Regions from separate parts of the Homo sapiens genome. Here regions 1 and 3 are each linked to region 2. Evidence: promoter capture Hi-C in human tissues and cell types (Jung and others, 2019). All regions are on one chromosome and are shown on one strand. Each heading gives the region's core, a stretch centred on a gene start or on the middle of the fragment in contact. The rest is flanking DNA. Distances are from core to core; before and after follow the strand shown. Region 1 has its middle 47 kb from the start of TCERG1L. Region 2 holds the start of TCERG1L (transcription elongation regulator 1 like). Region 3 overlaps TCERG1L (transcription elongation regulator 1 like).

What was found. The method cuts DNA at HindIII sites, captures the fragments that hold promoters and counts their contacts. A contact is called where the count stands out against the background at its distance.
Region 1: a fragment that was not itself captured here is called in contact with the fragment with the promoter of TCERG1L in region 2 in 2 of the 25 tissues and cell types used here (bladder and dorsolateral prefrontal cortex).
Region 3: a fragment that was not itself captured here is called in contact with the fragment with the promoter of TCERG1L in region 2 in 2 of the 25 tissues and cell types used here (dorsolateral prefrontal cortex and thymus).

The regions. Positions count from the first base shown.
Region 1 is chr10:131,357,265-131,360,417 of GRCh38, reverse strand. No RefSeq gene overlaps it. Among named protein-coding and RNA genes, the nearest start is that of TCERG1L, 47 kb to the right of the region's middle. The HindIII fragment of the contact is 3,640 bases long and covers 1-3,153 here.
Region 2 is chr10:131,310,419-131,313,560 of GRCh38, reverse strand. TCERG1L (transcription elongation regulator 1 like) reads left to right here and starts at 1,840. Exons shown (of 12, transcript NM_174937.4): 1 at 1,840-2,267. The coding sequence starts at 1,926. LOC101927461 (a long non-coding RNA gene) reads right to left here and starts at 1,705. Exons shown (of 3, transcript XR_242763.6): 1 at 1,287-1,705. The HindIII fragment of the contact is 8,672 bases long and covers 1-3,142 here.
Region 3 is chr10:131,277,671-131,280,787 of GRCh38, reverse strand. All of the region lies in intron 3 of TCERG1L (transcription elongation regulator 1 like), which reads left to right. Among named protein-coding and RNA genes, the nearest start is that of TCERG1L, 32 kb to the left of the region's middle. RefSeq lists enhancers at 229-872, 873-1,516, 2,916-3,117. The HindIII fragment of the contact is 5,518 bases long and covers 1-3,117 here.

The sequences.
Region 1 (3,153 bases), core at 303-2,802, 47 kb before region 2:
ACAATAGAGAAGGGGGCCTTGATGCCGCCAGCGGGACCTCTAGGAAGGGTCCCACTCTGGGTCCCATTCAGCCTCATAAACGCCCACCTCTCCCCAGCACAAGCATCTCTAGACGGCCGCACCCCCTCATAACTCCCGGCACTGTCCGTAGTTTCATACTTTGCTTCTCTTCACAGTAATGCACCAGCATGGGCGCTGTGACGGCTACTCAACAACGCCCAGTTCTTGCCTCCTTCCCAGCAAATAAATAGTCTCCCTCCGCTGACTGCTCAGCGTCAGAAGGGCTATATGACTTCCTCAGTCCAGTGGGTTGGGGGCAGGGTTGACATGTGTCACCAGCAGGCCAAGCATTTAATTATCAGCATGAGAACTTCTAGCCAACCAGGAAGCTGAGCATCCAGACTGTGCAGACTCTAGAAGGTCCGGCCTTTGTCCCTGGCTGCTGTCTCCACCTGGAGGACACTTGTCTTGGGGAGCTCCCAGACCCATGGCAGTCCTTGTGTGAGTGAGAAATTCAGCTTAGTTTTTAAAGCCCTGAGGTTTGGGAGATTTTTGTTACTGCAGCATAACGTCACCTGTGGTGACAGAGACACCTGGCTGGAGCATTATAGATATCCTTTCCTGAGTGCTGGAGCCAAGAAGTGCCCTTTTCCTCTCATACCCCCCAAGCTGCTCCTCCATCTGCCTCCTTTGGCTTCTGCTGTTGCTTGAATGCAGCTCTGGCTGGTCACACCATCAGCCTCACATTCTGTGAACCCCCTCACTGCCTCCCTCTCTCTAGCATGGGCTCCATGAGGGCAGGTGCTGTGTCTGTCTCAATTATTGTTAGAAGCTCAGTTTATGCCCAGGAATGTTTGTGCAACAAATAAATGAATGAAAGCTTTTTTACAAAGAGAAGAAAAATCGTATGATGCAAATGACTACTCACTAATTTATTGTTTATGTACATTAACAGGATTTTATGTTGGATTTGTTTTAAATGGGATATACATATTATACAGGCACTAGAATTTAATTTTAATTAAACAGACATTTCTGCTGAAGTTGTTTTTGGTTTCCTCTTTTACTGTCTCACATTGTTCATGAATAGTTCTGCTTGATACTTTTCAGCAATGTGACAGACTGGAAGATAGCCACACTTCCAAGAGCGAGTCTGCCTATCTGCCTCAAAATGTAGTCAGCTCAGACACGAACAGACGCCTTCCTAAGTGGGGCTCTGAGGGTGGCGCGGATGGAGTTCTTATCCCAGGATATCAGTTGGCTCAGAGGGCAGGAAGAGCAGTGTGGGGAGGGGTTTCCCTCTCACCTGGTGAGTTGCACATGAAAAGGTGGCCTCATTTAGTCTTCAGTGAAAAAAAAACCTTGCTCTGGTTGTATTAACTGTTTCCTCACCACACAGTCGCCATTTTATTCACTTTCAGCCGTTATTGAAGACTCACCATGTGCCAGCATCTGAGCTATCTTGGCAGGAAAGCCATAGCCCTTGTCATCAGAAGCTTGGAGCTTCTATTTCTGGTCCTTAATACGCTTACTTAGATCATCTCCCCACAGCGGGTCCCTGTTAGAACGGATGAGCATGCACACACACACAGATACACAGTTGCACAAACACAAAATGCATGCATGTGCAGACAGACGTGCAAGTGCACACGCAGGCATCACACATCTTCGGACTCAGAGATTGGGAGTGGGCTGCCAGGTCCATGGTGCCCATGAGCCACAAGACATAGCTGGCGGCTGCTGAGCCTGAAAGCATTTTTTTTTCCCGAGACAGAGTCTTGCTCTGTCACCCAGGCTGTTATGCAGTGGTGCGATCTCAGCTCACTGCAACCTCCGCCTCCCGGGTTCAAGCACTTCTTCTGCCTCAGCCTCCTGAGTAGCTGGGATTACAGGCACCCACCACCACACCTGGCTAATTTTTGTATTTTTAGTAGACATGGGGTTTCACCTTGTTGGCCAAGCTGGTCTTGAACTCCTAACTTTGTCACCTGCCCACCTCAGCCTACCAATTTTTTTTTGTTTTTTTTTTTGAGACAGAGTTTTGCTTTTTTGACCAGTCTGGAGATGGTATGATCTCAGCTCACTGCAACCTCTACCCCCTAGGTTCAAGCAATTCTCCTGCCTCAGCCTCCTGAGTAGCTGGAATTACAGGTGCGCACCACCATGCTGGGGTAATTTTTTTGTATTTTTGGTAGAGACGGAGTTTTGCAATGTTGGCCAGGCTGGTCTCAAACTCCTGACCTCAGGTGATCCACCCGCCTCAGCCTCCCAAACTGCTGGGATTACAGGCATGAGCCACGGCACCTGGCCAGCCTGACAGCGTTTCTGCCATAGCCTTCAAGGGAGCCATGGATGACCACGGACTGTCTTTAGGCAGATGCTACAGTGCTATTGTCGTTGTGATATGTTGACAAGCTTCTGAGCTCTGATAGTGCAATCATTACTTAATGGAAGGGACGTTATCTGCTTCGGGGAGCTCTGCCAAGTGCTTCTCCCTCTCAGCTTCAAAAGACAATCTCGTCAGCGTGCGGACCACATGAACAGATAATCGCCTGCCTTCAGGAGGTGGAGCTGCTGAGACAGGCAGGCCCTGAGAGCCGGAGCAGGGAGCGACAATGTCCCGGCCTGGAGCTGCGTCCTCAGCCAGACCCAGTGGTCAGCTCCCGGCCACCAGGACTCCATTTAGCCAAGAGGCAGTTTCACCGCCTGCGGGAGCCAACTCACACGAGGCAGAGTCTCACTTCCTTAATTAAGAGAAGCGCCCCTTGTTTTCTCTGCTCGAAATTTTCCAATGTGCACACACTCCAACAACCTTATTACTAGGTATAAAATGATAATTTCTGTCATGGAGAACACAAAGAGATGAGGAAAATCCTCAAACCCGGGGCCCCCTTGTGGCACACAGGATCGCTTGCCAAATGTTTTACTGTCTTTACTTTTGGGGGAAATTCTCTTCCTTGGTCAAAACCTCCTCTTCGGACAGGCTGGAGGATGCACCTGGCATTGCTGCTTGCCCAGGCACAAGGACGACAGGCTGGGCTAACCAGGGCCTGTACTCCGAAGGGCAATATAGTTATTCATTTATTTATTTATTTATTTATTTATTTATTTATTTTTGAGACAGAGTCTTGTTCTGTCATCCAGGCTGGAGTA
Region 2 (3,142 bases), core at 591-3,090:
GAGAACAGCATGCAAGCCAGGCACGAGCACCCCTGGCCTTCTGTCTCTGCCTCCAAGCAGAAGGAAGGAGAATCTCCTGTGCAAAAGGGACTATGCGGTGGGGGAGGTGGGGGGTGGCAGGGGCATGTGAGCCTGCCTGGAGACGCCTCCCCAATATCCTGATCTGGCTCTGACCATTAAACTAACACATTTATAACACATGTGCACATACTAATATATGCACATAAATTAAGGGTGTAAGTGAATAGTAACAGCCTTCTAATGTGCAGAGCTTTCTGATTTTAGGTGAATAAAAAAAATGCCAGTACTTTTGCATCAAAGAGAGAGATAAACTTGCTAATTGAAAACTGGTTTTCGTGGAGGAAAATATGGAGGCGCCAGCTATGTAAATCAGCATATGCCCAGATCTAAAAGAAATCAGGCCAGGCCAAGAGGAAATTAAGCAAATCAGGATAATGAGGAAACAACCCTAGACGCAAATTAAAAGCACTCGGGTGCTTTAGGCCATCTCAGGAGGTTGGCAGTGGACAGGTGGGAGGTGATGCGAACACGGGTTTGGAGTACCAGGCGTGTCAGTGCCGCTGGGTGGGTGGGTGCCTGCTCTCCCACCCAGGTCAGGGAGGGTTTTTCATGCAAGTTCTTAAATGCATGGATCATAATGCTGCCTTTTGCATCCAGAAAGACCCTTCAAATGCCTCTAACAACACTGGTCTCGCGCTGGCATTAGCTGTGCTTGGGTTTCCTGGGTTTAGCGACCTAAGGGGTTTACAGCGCACGGAAGTCTCTGCCCAGCTGTCAGCGCGCGTCGCCAGGGGCTGCACTGAAGCTGTGGACCCGGGATGGGGAGGAGGCTGGCGGCCTCCGAAGCAGGGTCTACAGCGGGGGAGGGCTAGCGCCGTCTGGCGGTGGCTGCGCGTGGCCAGTGCGGACCCAGGCTCGGCTCGGCCGGCGCTGCCTGCGTGTGGTCCGGGCGGAGCGAGGGTCCTTGGAGCCCGGTTCGTCCTGGGTCCCAGGAAGCTCGGCGTGCAGCGTCAGAGGCCGCGTGTGCTGGGGGAGGGAGGAGTACAGACTGTGCCTGGGGGCATCCAGGACGAATTCACAGAGGGGTGGTCCTGCCCCACCCAGGGGGTGTCGTGGGCAAAGGCCCTGGGGCCACCTGCCTGGTGCCTTGGAGGGCGTAGGGCAGGAGCCGCCGAGGCCCGCGGGCCACTGTGGGGCGCGGAACTTCAGACCAGGCACCCGCGGCTCAACTTCCGGGCCAGGGGACCCGCGGGGGCCTTACGAACCTGTTTGGCCCATTTGTGCAACAGAAATCCGCCCGCGCCTAGCAGCGTCCGGGGCCGCCTGCGCCGGATCCGCAGCCCAGTACCCTCCGCGCCCTGGACTCCGAGGAGGCCAGGTAGAGAGCGGCTCGCGCGGTCCCCGTCTGCGCCCTCAGCCCCGCGCTGGGCAGCGGGACATGCCTGGCTCCGGCGCCGCCACCTCGGCTTCCGCTTGCCCTTGAGTGCGGAGCCCGGAGCCTCCCTCGCGGTGCGCTGGGTCCCAGAGGGCCAGAGGCCACCAGGGGGCCGGCATCGGCGGGAGCCCAGCCGGGCGCGCCCTCGGCCCTCTCCCACCCACGTCCTCCGCGGCCGCCCGGGTCCAGGGGCGCAGCGGGGAGGAGACCCCGGCCAGGGCCGGGGAGCGCGAGGGCGGGGCGGGGTCCGGCGGGGAGGGGCGCGGGCGGGCGGGGACCGGGGCGGGGGCCGGGTCCGGGGGCGGCGGCGGCGCGGGCGGGAGGAGGAGGAGCTTCCCGCGCGGGGCAGGGGCGGAGCGAGCGGCCGCGCCGCGGAGCCAAGTGAGTTCGCTCCGGAGCCGCGCCGCCGCCGGCCCAGCATCTCGGGCGCCCGCCGCCCCCGCCGCCGCCGTCAGCGCGGGGATGTAGGATGCAGGCGGGCGCCAGGTTCCAGCGGCGGCGGCGGCAGCTGCAGCAGCAGCAGCCCCGGCGGCGGCAGCCTCTCCTCTGGCCGATGGACGCAGAGCCGCCGCCGCCGCCGCCCTGGGTCTGGATGGTGCCGGGCTCGGCCGGGCTGCTCCGGCTCAGCGCGGGGGTCGTGGTTCCCCCGGTGCTGCTCGCCTCGGCCCCGCCGCCCGCGGCCCCGCTGCTCCCCGGTCTCCCCGGCTGGCCGGCCCCGAGCGAGCCGGTGCTCCCGCTGCTGCCGCTGCCCTCTGCGCCAGACTCCGCCGCCGCCGCCGCCGCGCACCCCTTCCCCGCGCTCCACGGGCAGGTAACGTGTCCCCGTCCCGCCTCGGCCCGGGTCGCCGTCTCCCCTGCTCCTGGGCGCGCCCTGCCCGGCCCGGCTCTGGCCTCCGGCTCGCGCGCCCTCCTCCCCGGCGGTCCTCGCCGCCCCAAACCCTCAGGACGGAGCCCGGCAGCCGTGCCTCGGCGAGAAAGTTCGTGCTTGGACGCCCGGTCGTCCACCTCCGCAGCTTTGGCAGGTGCCTCCGGGTGTCTGGACGGAGCCGTGGAGGGACCCGCCGCCCAGGCCCGCGTGGGGACCGCAGGGAACTCGCGCCACGCCGGGGGTCACTGTCCATCGCGAGGTGCTGAAGTGGCTCCGTGACCGCCGCGGGCCGTGGCTGACATCGCGGAGAAGTTAGGACTTTCACAGTCTCTGCCAGACTTGAAAGCAAGCTGGAAATCGATAGCTGTTTCAGCTGTTTCAGATTCTAATCTGGTTTGGGTTTTTCCCCCTTTCATTTGAAAATAGACTCAGGGCAATGCTTAAGAGAATTCCAACCGACGGAAGTGGCCGGGAAATCCTGCCTTCGGTACTGAGGGATGTTACCGGAGATTCCCCTGCCCCAGGCCTGCCGGAGTCCACCACATTCGCTAATGCCACACTGCACTTTAGAACTAGAGTTTGGCTTTTAAGACATGGGATTAAAAAGAAAAAGTGACTGAACCTTTGATAAATGGTGCAGCAGAGCTAGGCGGGCTGGTTTGGGCAAGATTCATTGTCAGCTAACTATGCAGATGCATTTAAATCAGGGAATAGCGTGCATTTTATTCCAAGGATTGACCTCATTAGCATATTCAAACGGGTGTTATGTTAGAATACACCATTTGATTAATTTAATTCCAATATTATCTTGTGAGCTT
Region 3 (3,117 bases), core at 606-3,105, 33 kb after region 2:
TCTGAGACTACCTGGGTATACATGTGGTTGTTTGCAGGAAGCACAACCACAGAGAACAGGTGTCTGTGTGTGTGTGTGTGTGCACATCTTAGGCAGGCACAGATGAGTCGTGTAGCTTCATATTGAAACGTGAAAGGAAAATAAATCTTGGGGCCCCCAAATTACCAAGCTAAAGGGAAAAGTCAAGCTGGGAACTGCTTAGGGCCAACCTGCGTCCCATTCTATTCAAAATCACCACTCAGCTCACTGAGATAAGTGCATCTCTGTATGCCTCCTTTGGAGAGGCTCATCAGGAACTGGAAAGAATGCAACCATTCCTCTCTCATCTACCTTTGACCTGGAAGCCCCTCCTGCTTCCAGTCTTCCCAACTTGGCTTTGGGTTGTCCCTCGTTTCCAGACCAAACCAAGGTTCATCTTGCATATGTTGATTGATTACCAAGCTAAAGGGAAAAGTCAAGCTGGGAATGGCTTAGGGCCAACCTGCCTCCCATTCTATTCAAAATCACCTCTGTGCTCACTGAGTTAAGTGCATGTCTGATTGCCTCCTTTGGAGAGGCTCATCAGGAACTCAAAGAATGCAACCATTCCTCTCTTATCTACCATGACCTGGAAGCCCCCTCCTGCTTCCAGTCTTCCCACCTTGGCTTTGAATGTATAGAATGTGTAAAACCAAACTGCTCTGACCACCCTGGGCACATGTCACCAGGACCTCCTGAGGCTGTGTCGCAGCCATGCATCCTCAAGCTTGGCAAAATACATTTTCTAAATTAACTGAGACCTCTCTCTGATTTTCGGGGCTCACGAAAGGGTGTAGGCTGGCTCTGCTGGGTCGCATTCCACATGGAGAAACTCTCACCTGTCACTCCTGTGGGATTTGCTGTTGAGAGGAGGGTGTGCCCCCGAGAGAGTAGCTGGACCTTTGCAGCGAAAGGCAGAGTGAGGAGCTATGGGTGGTTTTCACAGGGTTTGCTATGGGTGTCTCAGCATCCGTGAGTGTCACCCACCAAAGCCCGGAAGCGTTTCCCATCCCTACAGATGTTTAGGGGACATTTCCCTGGCTCAGTCAAGGGTTGCTGGAGGTGTGGCCATCCTCACCGGGCGGCTGGGTGGCCTGTGCTCCTCCAGATCCTTCTCAGCTTTCTCTCTCCTTTGTTTTTCTGGATTGCAGGCCAGCATGGCCCATGGTCTTCTCTTCATCTGGGCGCCTTGGATGGTGGGACAGGAGCTTGTCTCGCCAGATGTCACTGTTTCCAGGGTTCTGTCACTTGGCTCTTGATGAGGCTAGATTTTTTTGGCCCCTGCTGGGGCTTTAAGTCCTAGAGACTCCGGGCATGATGTGAAGCCTGGAATGGGCTCACTGGAAAAGACCCATCCACTGTCCTAAACAGTCATGAAGGTTAGCAGCATTGCTTACTGTCAATTGCAGGCAACGCATGGCACTGAGCGTCTTACACTCCTGCCCACCTGCCTGCCCAGGCCTTTTCCCTCTCCTCCCTCCCTCCTTCCTCCCCCTCTCACCTTTCCTCTGTCCCTTCGTAAAGTCAACCCATGTTTAGAGCGGCTTGGAATTGAAAGGAAAATGACTGATGAGTTGTGTGCCAGGCACTGTATCGGGGCCTTCCCTGTGGTCATCTCATCTAATCTAGGGCTCCCATGAACTAGGTAGCCCTGTCTCTGCCTGAGGGGCACACGCAGCTGTGAGGCTGGACTAGGCTCAGGAAGGAAAGAGCTGAACCCCATCAGGCAAGGTTTCCGGGCTTCTGGAGCTTTGGGGGCCTGTGAGGGAGACGGACTTTCTCAAACAGATGTGATTGGCACACACAGTGGCAGCAGAAGGGCCCGGAGGGAGGTGTGGGGTTGAAGGCCATGCAGGAGGATTGTGGGGGTCCAGCAGTCATCAGGGAGGACTTTCAGGGGACCCGAGGCCCCATGAGCCCAGGAGAGCTCCCATGGGAGGGAGGAGCACTTCCTCCTTGCAAAGCCCCAGCATGGGAGAGAGCAGGGGCCTTCAAGGGCCTGATGGTGACTCCTGGGCAGGCGAGGACACCAACAGCAAAGGGCACCCCCCAGGCCAGCCTTGGCAGGAAGTGACTCCGCGGCAGGGAAGAGACATGATCGTTCTCATGTCTTGAAAAGACGATGTGGGCTGGGTGCGGTGGCTCATGCCTGTAATCCCAGCACTTTGGGAGGCCGAGGCGGGTGGATCACCTGAGGTCAGGGGTTCGAGACCAAGCTGCCCAACATGGTGAAACCCTGTCTCTACTAACAATACAAAAAAAAAATTAGCTGGGCATCGTGGTGGGCACCTGTAATTCCAGCTACTTGGGAGGCGGAGGCAGGAGAATTGCTTGAACCCGGGAGGCAGAGGTTGCAGTGAGCTGAGATCAGGCCATTGCACTCTAGCCTGGGTGACGGAGCAAGACTCTGTCTCAAAAAAAAAAAAAAAAAGAAAAAAGAAAAGACGATGTAGCTCAAGGGGAGAGGACAGGAGGGGGGGCCTCGTCTCATCTTCACCAGTGAACTCTAGAAGCATCGCTGCCCCATTTTACAGGTGAGGAAACCGAGCAGGATCCAGGAGAGGATGCGACTCGGCCGGGGTCACGTGGCTCTGCCTGGGGTTTCAGAGTCAGGTGAAGGAGCCCCACCGGTGCTCAGATCAATCTGAGTTCTCCTGTTCCTGAGGCCAGTGGGCCCGGGGGGAGGCAGGAGCCGGGAGCCCCTGCCTCCCTCCGCTTCCATCTCCCACAGCCTGCTGGGTTTCCTCAGACTTTCCTCCCTCCAGAGCCCTGTTTTGGGGAGTGGCTGAAGCTCCCCACATGCGGAATGAAATCCAGAGCTCAGGATGGCCCCTGAGCCCCCTGCTCTGGTCACCTGGCCTTTTTCCCTCCCAAGTCGGTGGCTCTCCCGGCTCAGGAGGCACCTGCCACTGGCTCCTTTCCATTCTCCAGGCCTCTGCCTGGGGCCTGGGCAGTCACTGTGCCCTCCTCCGGGCACCTTTTGACCAGATGTCCTCAGGGCTCATCCCTGCTTCCTTGAGATCTGCGCTGAGACCTGACCTCAGAGGCCCATGCCTGCCTCTGTGTTTATCCTTCTGCCATGGGCACTGTCCTCTCCAA